Regions from separate parts of the Homo sapiens genome. Here all the other regions are linked to region 1. The links are contacts of gene promoters, found by promoter capture Hi-C in blood cells and fetal thymus (Javierre and others, 2016). All regions are on one chromosome and are shown on one strand. The core of a region is centred on a gene start or on the middle of the fragment in contact, and the rest is flanking DNA. Distances in the headings are between cores, read along the strand shown.

Region 1 (3,149 bases), core at 332-2,831:
CGCAACCCACTCCCTCCCTTTGCTCTCTCTCTGGGGCACCGTGGGCAGCTCTTGCTGCAGAGAGCTGTGCTGAGGCCCTTTACTACAGAACCTGTACAGCGCACCCTCCAACAGCACTTCCATCTATGGTCCTACTCCCCAAGGATCTGCCTCCGCACAGCCCTCCCAATGTGCCTGAAAATATCAGCATTGATCCTTTCCCTGGCCACCTTGCTCTTAAGGCTCCTGTTCATCATGCTATGTGGATGTGGACCTCCTCGCCTCTCTGTACTGCCCATGATGGTGGATTACAGCAGAATGGGCTCACCAGTTGACAGCTTTCCCCACTCATGTCTTCTACTCACTAGCTAAGCTTGGGGTGGGTGTCCCCATTGCCCGGAAAATTACTACACAGCCCTCATATCAAACTTGTTTTGAGAAGCATAACCATAAACCCATCTTTGGCCTATGATCCTAGGGAGTCCTCATGCCAACAAGACCTTTTGGGGTCAGCCACGCATGTGAAGTTAGAATGCAGTTTAGGCTGTGCCATGAATCTGAACTAAATATGATTTTAGGGGTGAGGAAACTGGGACCTAGGGGCTTGGGGAACTGGCCCGAAGGTATGGAGAGTACCTGACCTTGTCGTTCTTCCAGGATATGATATTTACTCCTGGCACCAATCCCCTCTACCTTGTACTGAAAGCAAGGACAGCCTGCCTGCAACCACACATACAGGTGGCCATCCAGCAGGTGCATACTAAATGTGTGTTGAGTTGAATTATTAGACTCTTTCTAAGCAACCTTGCAGCATTGAAGGGACCGCAATCCCTTTGCCTCTGCGTCCTTAGGGCTAAACTCGAGGTCTCGATGTCTTGCACTGTGGGCTGGGCCGGGTTTGGTGCCTCACCCAGCAGGTAAGTGCTGTCTACGCCTCCCACAGGTCCAGTGGCTCCTCTCCAGACTTGGGTGCACTGGGCCAGGCTGCACCTTACTAATCTCAAGGCTTCCTGTGTTTGTGGCTTTGGGGCCCTCTTCATCGTGTGAATAGGAATAAGAAGATTGTTATTTCTGGCCGGGTGCAGTGGCTCACGCCTGTAATCCCAGCACTTTGGGAGGCCGAGACGGGCGGATCACCTGAGGTGGGGAGTTCGAGACCAGCCTGATCAACATGGAGAAACCCCGTCTCTACTAAAAATATAAAATTAGCCGGGCGTGGTGGTGCATGCCTGTAATCCCAGCTACTAGGGAGGCTGAGGCAGGAGAATCGCTTGAACCCGGGAGGCGGAGGTTGCGGTGAGCCGAGATCGCGCCACTGCACTCCAGCCTGGGCAACAAGAGCGAAATTCCGTCTCAAAAAAAAAAAAAAGATTGTTATTTCTGAAATAAACCCCTATTTCTCACTATTTAATAATTTAGCAATCTTGACTCACAATCCAAATCCAGGCACCCCAGACCCACCCACGGCCCGTTGCCTAGCAACAGCCTCCCCACCCCCGCCTCCGCGCCTTTTCCCGCCGACTGCCCAGTGCGCACGCTCAGAGCCTTCCTCCACACCCCGCCCCTGCAGGGCGCGCGGTGGTGACGTGTAGAGTGCGCGACGCTTTTGGCGACCCGACCTCTGGCTAACCTACCCCCGGAGCCATGGCCTCTGCTGGGGTGGCAGCCGGGCGACAGGCGGAGGATGTATTGCCGCCAACGTCCGACCAGCCGCTGCCTGACACCAAGCCGCTGCCGCCTCCTCAGCCGCCGCCGGTCCCTGCGCCTCAACCGCAGCAGTCGCCGGCGCCACGGCCTCAGTCACCTGCCCGCGCGAGGGAGGAAGAGAACTACTCCTTTTTACCTTTGGTTCACAACATCATCAAATGGTAAGAACCTAGGAGAGGACCAGGCCCCATACTCCCTCCAGCTTCTCCTCTCAGCCGTTTCAGAGCTGCAAGAGGCCTTGGCGCTCTGGGGCACGCCCCCGTTTCACAGATGGGGAAACTCAGACCCAGAGCGGGAAGAGGCCTTTCCCAAGACCACAGAGACATTCCATGAGTTAAGCAAACGATTTGAGCCTCGAGAGGTGCGATATCCTTAAGAATGAAGCCAGCTTAGAGACTAAATGCAGACTCTTGTCCAGCGGCTCAAATGTTCATCCCAGCGATCTTGAGCAAATTAAATCTCTTTAAGCCTCAGTTTTCTCACCTTTAATGTTGGTAATACTCACTTTAGTTCCTTAGTTCAGCAAACTCAACAGATAAGCATCATCTTCCCTGTGCCAAGTGCTACGGGATGGACGCAGTAAAAGGGGCCAACTTTTCACCCCCAAAGGTTTAGATAGAAGGAAAAAAAGACATGATTGGGAATAACCCACAATTCAAAAAGATTGAGACGGGAGTGGTGGCGATGGGAAACATTAGACTAAGCAGAAACACAGAAGTTGCCTCAGATGATTAGACCCACTTGTACTGACTTTGTTCTAACAGTACCAAAGGAAATAATTGTTGTCATCCTTTTGGCCAGCCTTCAGGGTAGCCTGAGTTTTCAAAGTGACTCTGTAGAGGAAAAACCAAAAACAAAAACACAAAAGTCTCACTGATCCTTATGTTTGCCTAAATTATTATTTTTTTTGAGAGAGGGTCTCGCTCTGTCACCCAGACTGGAGTACAGTGGCGTGATCTCGGCTCACTGCAGCCTCAACCTCCTGGCCTCAAGCCATCCTCCCACCTCATCCTCCCAAGTAACCGGAACCACAGGCATGAGCCATGGCACCCAGCGAATTTTTGTATTTTTTGTAGAGATGGAGTTTCACCATGTTGCCCAGGCTGTAAATTATTTTCATTATGTTACTTCACTGTATATCCACGTGATACTAGGTGTAAACCCCTAGGCTTGTAACTCTTACTCAACCATTAAAGACCAAAACAAAGTAAATTAAAAGAAAATTACGATTCCAGTAACATTCAGGTGAACATGAATGTGCTCTTCACTGTTTTACTGAAATGGAATTGTTACAACGTGAAGGTCTTGACTGTTAGTGGCCCACCCACTTTTGAGTTTAAGCAAATTAGATTCACTTGCTGTGGGATGACCTGATGCTCTTCTGCCACTTTTCAAATAACTACAAAGGCTTTGTTCTCACATTAGACCCTGGCTTCATTTGGTTTCACTTGGTGTTTAAATAC
Region 2 (3,149 bases), core at 244-2,743, 200 kb after region 1:
TGGAAGCAAGGATTCTCCCCCAGAGCCTCGAGGAAGAGCCAGCCCTGCCCACACCTTGACTTTGGACTTCCGGCGTGCAGAACTGTAAGAGAATAGATGTGCATTGTTTTAAGCCACTGGGTTTGTGGTCATTTGTTCCAGCAGCCGCAGGAAGCACACACACACGCTGCCTCCTCTCCTCATCTGTAAAATGGGGCTGGTTCAGGACCTCCCCCCCGGGTTCTTGGGAAGCATAAGCGAGTTGGAAGGAGCAAAAAGCTTAGAAAAGTCAGGGATACTATTTTTTAAATTGCTATGCCACAGCGATTTGCTGAGGAAGACAGCATTCCTCCTGCCTTCAAGAAATTCGCCACCTGGAGCAAGGGAGACTCACAAAGAATCATGATCCCAGAGGCTGTTAGAGGCTTGTAGAGTAGGCCTGGGCACACTGCCCAGGGAGCGGGAGCCTGATTTGACCGGGGGGCCTGGGAGGGCATCCTGGAGGAGCCCACTCTTGAGCTAAGCCTGGAAGGATATGGAGGGAGGAGCCAGACAGAGCAAGAGGGGAAGGGCATCTTGGGCAGAGGGAACAGCACGTGGGGCTGCTCAGAGGAGTAAGGGAAGAGGTAGTTGAGGAACCTGCAAGTCAGTCTGCAGGGATGGGGCCTTGGGGGCATCACGGAGGTGGGGGCAAGCCAGGGAGCCACATACTGGAAAGGAACAATTGCTTGGGCCACCGTGAGGAGGGTGAATGGGGGTTTGAGACCGAAGGCAAGGAAACCAGTTGCAGAGATTGTGGTCTGGCAGGTAGTGAAGGGTAAAATCAGTGGAATTTCAGGACAACCTGAAGAAGGTGGGTGAGCAGAGGCAGTGGAGGGTTGGCAACTTCCTGCCAAGGGGAAGGGATGGGGGTGGAGCAATTCCCGAGATGGCAATGACAGTGATAATGACAACTAGTGCTAAAATTAGTGCTTACTATATGCCAGGGAATGTGCAAAGTGCTTGATACGCCTTATCTCAGTCTCAATCCTGGAATTGTGATTATCAGCAGGGAATAGAGCCCAGAGATGGAATCCAGAGCTGGGAACAGCGAGGTGTGGGAGGCTGGGTGGCGGGGGTGGGGAGGGGAGGTGAGGAAATGGCTTTCATATAAACAAGATGAAAAACTGTTCAGGGACTGCTCTTGTCATACTTTTCTATTATTAAAAAAGAAAGAAAACACATGTTTTATTAGTAGCTAAGCACTTTTATTTAATAACAAAAAATCTGTAGGGCCTGAAAGCATGGCAATTCTAACCCCTCTATTTAAAAAAGACCTCTGAAGTACATATCCCTTAGGACTGTGCATGGGTAGTCAAAGCTTAATGACCAGCGGGGGATCAGGAGGGTGGAGGGGTCTGTGGTCAGCAGCTCGGCTGTCCTGGTGGTTTTATTTCTTGAGCTGACAGTGGTGAATGCAGGAGTGATCAGTGAATTATCTTCCATACCTTCTTGAATATCTTAAATATTTTATAATTAAAGATTGGGTGTGACTGATATTCTCCGGCTCTACATGAAAGCTGGTTGGAGGTACTAAGTCACATTCACAAATTACAGGATCTCTGTCCTCCTAGTCAGCCTGAGTTTCTTTCACCACATCCTGGCTCTGTTTGCATACCCCCAGAAACGGGAAGCTTCCTCTCTCTCTCTTGAAATTGCCTGGGGCCCTCTTTGAACAGCTCTAATTGTGGGAAAGTTCCTCATAAAGAGCCAGAAGCCTGGTCCAGTCCCTCTGCCCACTGGAACCACACAGTCTGTGTGTGATCACACAAAGCCCAGGCGGCCCTTTAGATCTTTGAAGACAGTGCTCATTCTCCTTTTCTCCCCATTCCAAATTTTTCTTCTCTGTGTAAAGTCTCAGTTCTTTTTCAGGCAAGTGACAGAAAACCAGCTCAAACTGGTTTATGATAAAAGGTGAATGTATTGGCTCAAGTGACTTAAAGTCCTGGGGTTGCTGAGCTTCAGGCGCAGCTGAATCCAGGTGCCCAGAAGGTGTCTCCATGTCTCTCAACTCCTCATTCTTCCCCATTGGCTCTGTTTTCAGACCCACAGTCTCAACAACTACCCCTGGAGGCTCCAGCAAAGCTCAGTGCTTCCAGCAAAACTCCTGGAGGGCTTAGGTCATTCGAACCATTCCTGAACCAATCCCTGTGGCCAGGCAAATGGGGCAGTTTGGTCAAACCTGAGTCACGTGACAATCTCTGCATCCTAGAGGTAGGGACCGCCCAGCCTGAACCACATGGGCCATAAGTGGGAAAGAATGGTGCCCACAGGAAAATTGATTGTAATTACCACCAAAAGACTAGATGTATTAGGTAGGACAGAGGCTTTATAACAGAGATCCACAATAACACCGGCTTAAACAAGATGGAATTTTATCCCTCGCTAACTCCAGATGCAAGAGATCTTGGGCTGATACAGTTAATTGTATGATTAGGGTGCCCCATAGCTGAGCATTCATTATCTGAGTTGGAAGTTAAGAGTTGTTAAAACATGAATATATTTAGTACTGTCCTGGCCACTTACTTCGTTCCCAGTCAAGCATCTCACCCTACCTAGCACCAGCATCTGTCCACCCCCCATCTGCATCTCTTCTGTCTGTCAGGTCTGCTTATGCAAGCTGGTAGCAAAGGAAAACTTCAAAGTTGTAGAATTTCTTGAAGTTGATGAGAGTTACGTTGGAGAGCTCCTGGGTTCTGCACACAGTGGCTGACAAACCAAGGATCTATCTATCTGGCTGGGTCAGCCCTGTCTAAATAATGAAAACCCCCAACGTGAAGAAAGATGAACCTGTGCTTTGGAAGAAAATGATTTGAATGTCATAGAACTCAGAGTGGCCCAAAGAACTCAGGGGGATGTGATGAAGCATTCTGGTTGTTAGGACCCAGAAGGTTCTAGTAAGGACCATCAGGCAATTTTGTGGGAAGAACTATGCCTACTCCAATGAACTTTTTGTACTCTAATTGTCTTACTCCATTTTCTGATGCTAAAACAGAATACCACTCTGGGTAATTTGTAAACAATAGAAATTTATTTGGCTCATGCTTCTGAAGACTGGGAAGTCCAAGAGTATGGCACCAGCATCTGGTGGGGGTCTTCATGCTGTATCATCCCATGGTGGAAGGCAGAAG
Region 3 (3,149 bases), core at 367-2,866, 160 kb after region 1:
TTCACGTGTTAAAACTTAATCGTGGGAGGCCGAGGCAGGCGGATCACGAGGTCAGGAAATCAAGACCATCCTGGCTAACATAGTGAAACTCTGTCTCTACTAAAAATACAAAAAATTAGCTGGGCGTGGTGGCGGGCGCCTGTAGTCCCAACTACTCAGAAGGCTGAGGCTGAGGCAGGAGAATGGCGTGAGCCCAGGAGGCGGAGCTTGTACCACTGCACTCCAGCCTGGGCGACAGAGTGAGACTGTGTCTCAAAAAAAAAAAAAAAAAATACTTAATTCCAGCTGGGTGTGGTGGCTTATGCCTATAATCCCAGCACTTTGAGAGGCTGAGGTGGGAGAATGGCTTGAGGTCAAGAGTTCAAGACCAGCCTGGGCAACATAGTGAGACCCCCCCATCTCTAGCCCCCCTAAAAAATGATTTAAAAAATCCCCAAATTCATATGTTGATTGGAGGTGGGGCCATTGGGAGGTCATTAGGATTAGATGAGGGCGTCAGGGTGGGGCCCCATGATGGGACTTGTGGCTTTATAAGAAGAGGAAGAGAGACTTGAGCTGGCACACTCTTGCCCTCTCGCCATGTGACACACTGTGCCGTTTCCTGACGCTGTAGGAAGGCCCTCACCAGATGTTGGCACCATGCTCTTGGACTCCCCAGCCTATAGAACCATGAGCTAAATAAACTTCTATTGCTTATAAACTACCAGTCTGTGATATTCTGTTATAACAACAGAGAATACACTAGACAGAAAATTGGTACTGAGAAGTGTTGCTAGTAACAAATACCCAAAAACACAGAAGCAGCTTTGAAATGAGTAGCATTACCCAATGGGCTGGAAGAATTTGGAGAAGCAGGCTAGAAAAGCCTGTATTGCTGTAAAAAGAGCATTAAGGGCAATTCTGGTGAGGTCTTCGAAAACAAGAAGACTAGGGGAAGTCTGGAACCTCTGCGAGATTACTTAAGTGGTCATGACCAGAATGCAGATAGAAATGTGGAGAATAAAGGCCACTCTGATGAAGTCTCAGATGGAACGGAGGAACAAGATATTGGAAACTGGAGTAAAGCCCGTCCTTGTTATAAACTGGCCAAGAACTTGGCTGGATTGTGTCTGTGCCAGGGACTCTATGGAATGCAGAATTTGAGAGCAATACATTAGGATATCTGGCAAAAGAACTATCTAAGCTGCAAAGTGTTCCGGCTGCTGCACAGCTACTTACATTAAGCTGCAAGAGGGAAAATGACTTAAAGATGAAATTTATAATCAAAAGGGAAGCAAAGCAGAAAGTCTTGGAAAATTCTCAGCCTGGCCACATAAAGAGAGAAGAGGCATGTTCAGGAGAGGGAACCAAAAGGGTGGCCCAGCAACTGTTCGCTAAGGAAATTAGTACAGGGAGAAAGATCGGCAAGAGAATAGAAGAAAGGTCGCGTGCGGTGGTTCATGCCTGTAATCCCAGCACTTTGGGAGGCTGACGTGGGCGGATCACGAGGTCAGGAGTTCGAGACCAGCCTGGCCAACATGGTGAAACCCCATCTTTACTAAAAATACAAAAATTAGCCAGACATGGTGGCGTGCGCCTGTAATCCTAGCTACTCAGGAGGCTGAAGCAGGAGAATTGCTCGAACCTGGGAGGTGGAAGTTGCAGTGAGCTGAGATCATGCCACTGCACTCGGGCCTGGGCGACAAGAGTGAGACTCTGTCTCAAAAAAATAAATAAATAAATAAATAAATAAATAAATGAGAGAATGGAAGAAAGACCCCGAAGCATTTCAAAGATCTTCCAAGCTGGCCCTCCCATCACAGACCCAGAGGCCTAGGAAGGAAGAATGGTTTTGGGGACAGGCCAGGCACCCTTCATGGATTTGCTGTCCAGGGCCCCCTAGAGTGTCCGTGCTCTCATGTAGTGTTTCCTCCACTGTCCCAGCTGTGGCACAAGCAGCCCCAGGTGTGGCTGGACCCACTGCTCTGGAAGATATAAGCCCATAGCCTTGGTGGCATCTGCATGGTGCTAATTCTACAGGCTCACAGAAAGCAAGAGCTGTGAGTATGGCAGCCTCTGCCTAGTTCAAAGGCTGTATCAGCCTTGTAGCCCAAGCAGGATTTGTTGCAGGGGTGGAGACACCACAAAAAGCCTCTCATGAAGGCAATGCCTGGTGGAGCTGAGGCAGTGAGACCATCACCAAGACCCGAGAACTGTACAGCTACCAGTGTGCAACGCCAGCCAGGGAGAGCTCAAGTGTGGGCTGGGCCCAGCAAAGCCATGGAAGCCAGGCTGCCCCAGGCCTTTGGGGCCCACCCCCCACCCCAGTATGTCCAGGAGGCGGAACACAGAGTGAAGGATTATTCTGGAGTCTTAAGGTGTGATGTTTAGCCCAGGCTTGGTGGCTCACTCCTATAATCCCAGCACTTGGGGAGGCCGAGGCTGGCAGATCACAAGGTCAAGAGATCGAGACCATCCTGGCCAACATGGTGAAACCCCGTCTCTACTAAAAATACAAAAATTAGCTGGGCGTGGTGGTGCACACCTGTAGTCCCAGCTACTCGGGAGGCTGAGGCAGGAGAATCACTTGAACCCGGGAGGCGGAGGTTGCAGTGAGCCAAGATCATGTCACTGCACTCTAGCCTGGTGACAGACAACAACAAAAAAGATACAATATCTACCCTGTTGTGTTTGGGCTTCTTTGGGACCATCTGCCCCTTTCATCATGCCTACTTCTGCTTTTTGGAATGGGAATGTCTATCCAATGCCTGTGCCACCACTGTATTTTGGGAGGAGATAACTTGTTTGATCTCACAGGGTCACAGCTGGAAGGAATTCATCGCAGGATGAATCGTACCTTCAGTCTCACCCATATCTCATTCAGATGAGACTCTGGACTGCAGACTTTTGAGTTGATGCTGGAGCAGGTTAAGACTTTGGGGCTTTGGGGATGGAATGAGTACATTTTGCATGTGAGGACATGCATTTTGGGGCCCAGGGCAGACTACTGTGTTTTGAATGTGTCTCCTAAATTTCATGTGTGGGAGACTTAATCCCCAAATTCATATGTTGATTGGAGGTGGTGCCTTTGGGAGGTAGTTGGGATTAGATGAGGTCATTGGGGCAGGGCCCCCAGGAAGGGACTGATGACTTTCTAAGAAGAGGAAGAG

The links. The method cuts DNA at HindIII sites, captures the fragments that hold promoters and counts their contacts. A CHiCAGO score of 5 or more calls a contact.
Region 2: a fragment that was not itself captured here is called in contact with the fragment with the promoter of MED9 in region 1 in 1 of 17 cell types (M0 macrophages); the score reaches 5.1 in M0 macrophages.
Region 3: a fragment that was not itself captured here is called in contact with the fragment with the promoter of MED9 in region 1 in 2 of 17 cell types (monocytes and neutrophils); the score reaches 6.7 in monocytes.

What each region holds. Positions count from the first base shown.
Region 1 is chr17:17,475,419-17,478,567 of GRCh38, forward strand. It overlaps MED9 (mediator complex subunit 9), which reads left to right and starts at 1,582. Exons shown (of 2, transcript NM_018019.3): 1 at 1,582-1,847. The coding sequence starts at 1,624. RefSeq lists an enhancer at 1,586-1,685. The HindIII fragment of the contact is 9,122 bases long and covers 351-3,149 here.
Region 2 is chr17:17,670,996-17,674,144 of GRCh38, forward strand. It overlaps SMCR2 (Smith-Magenis syndrome chromosome region, candidate 2), which reads right to left. Exons shown (of 4, transcript NR_131243.2): 4 at 3,031-3,149. Among named protein-coding and RNA genes, the nearest start is that of SMCR2, 5.1 kb to the right of the region's middle. The HindIII fragment of the contact is 313 bases long and covers 1,338-1,650 here.
Region 3 is chr17:17,635,556-17,638,704 of GRCh38, forward strand. No RefSeq gene overlaps it. Among named protein-coding and RNA genes, the nearest start is that of SMCR2, 41 kb to the right of the region's middle. The HindIII fragment of the contact is 7,472 bases long and covers 1-3,149 here.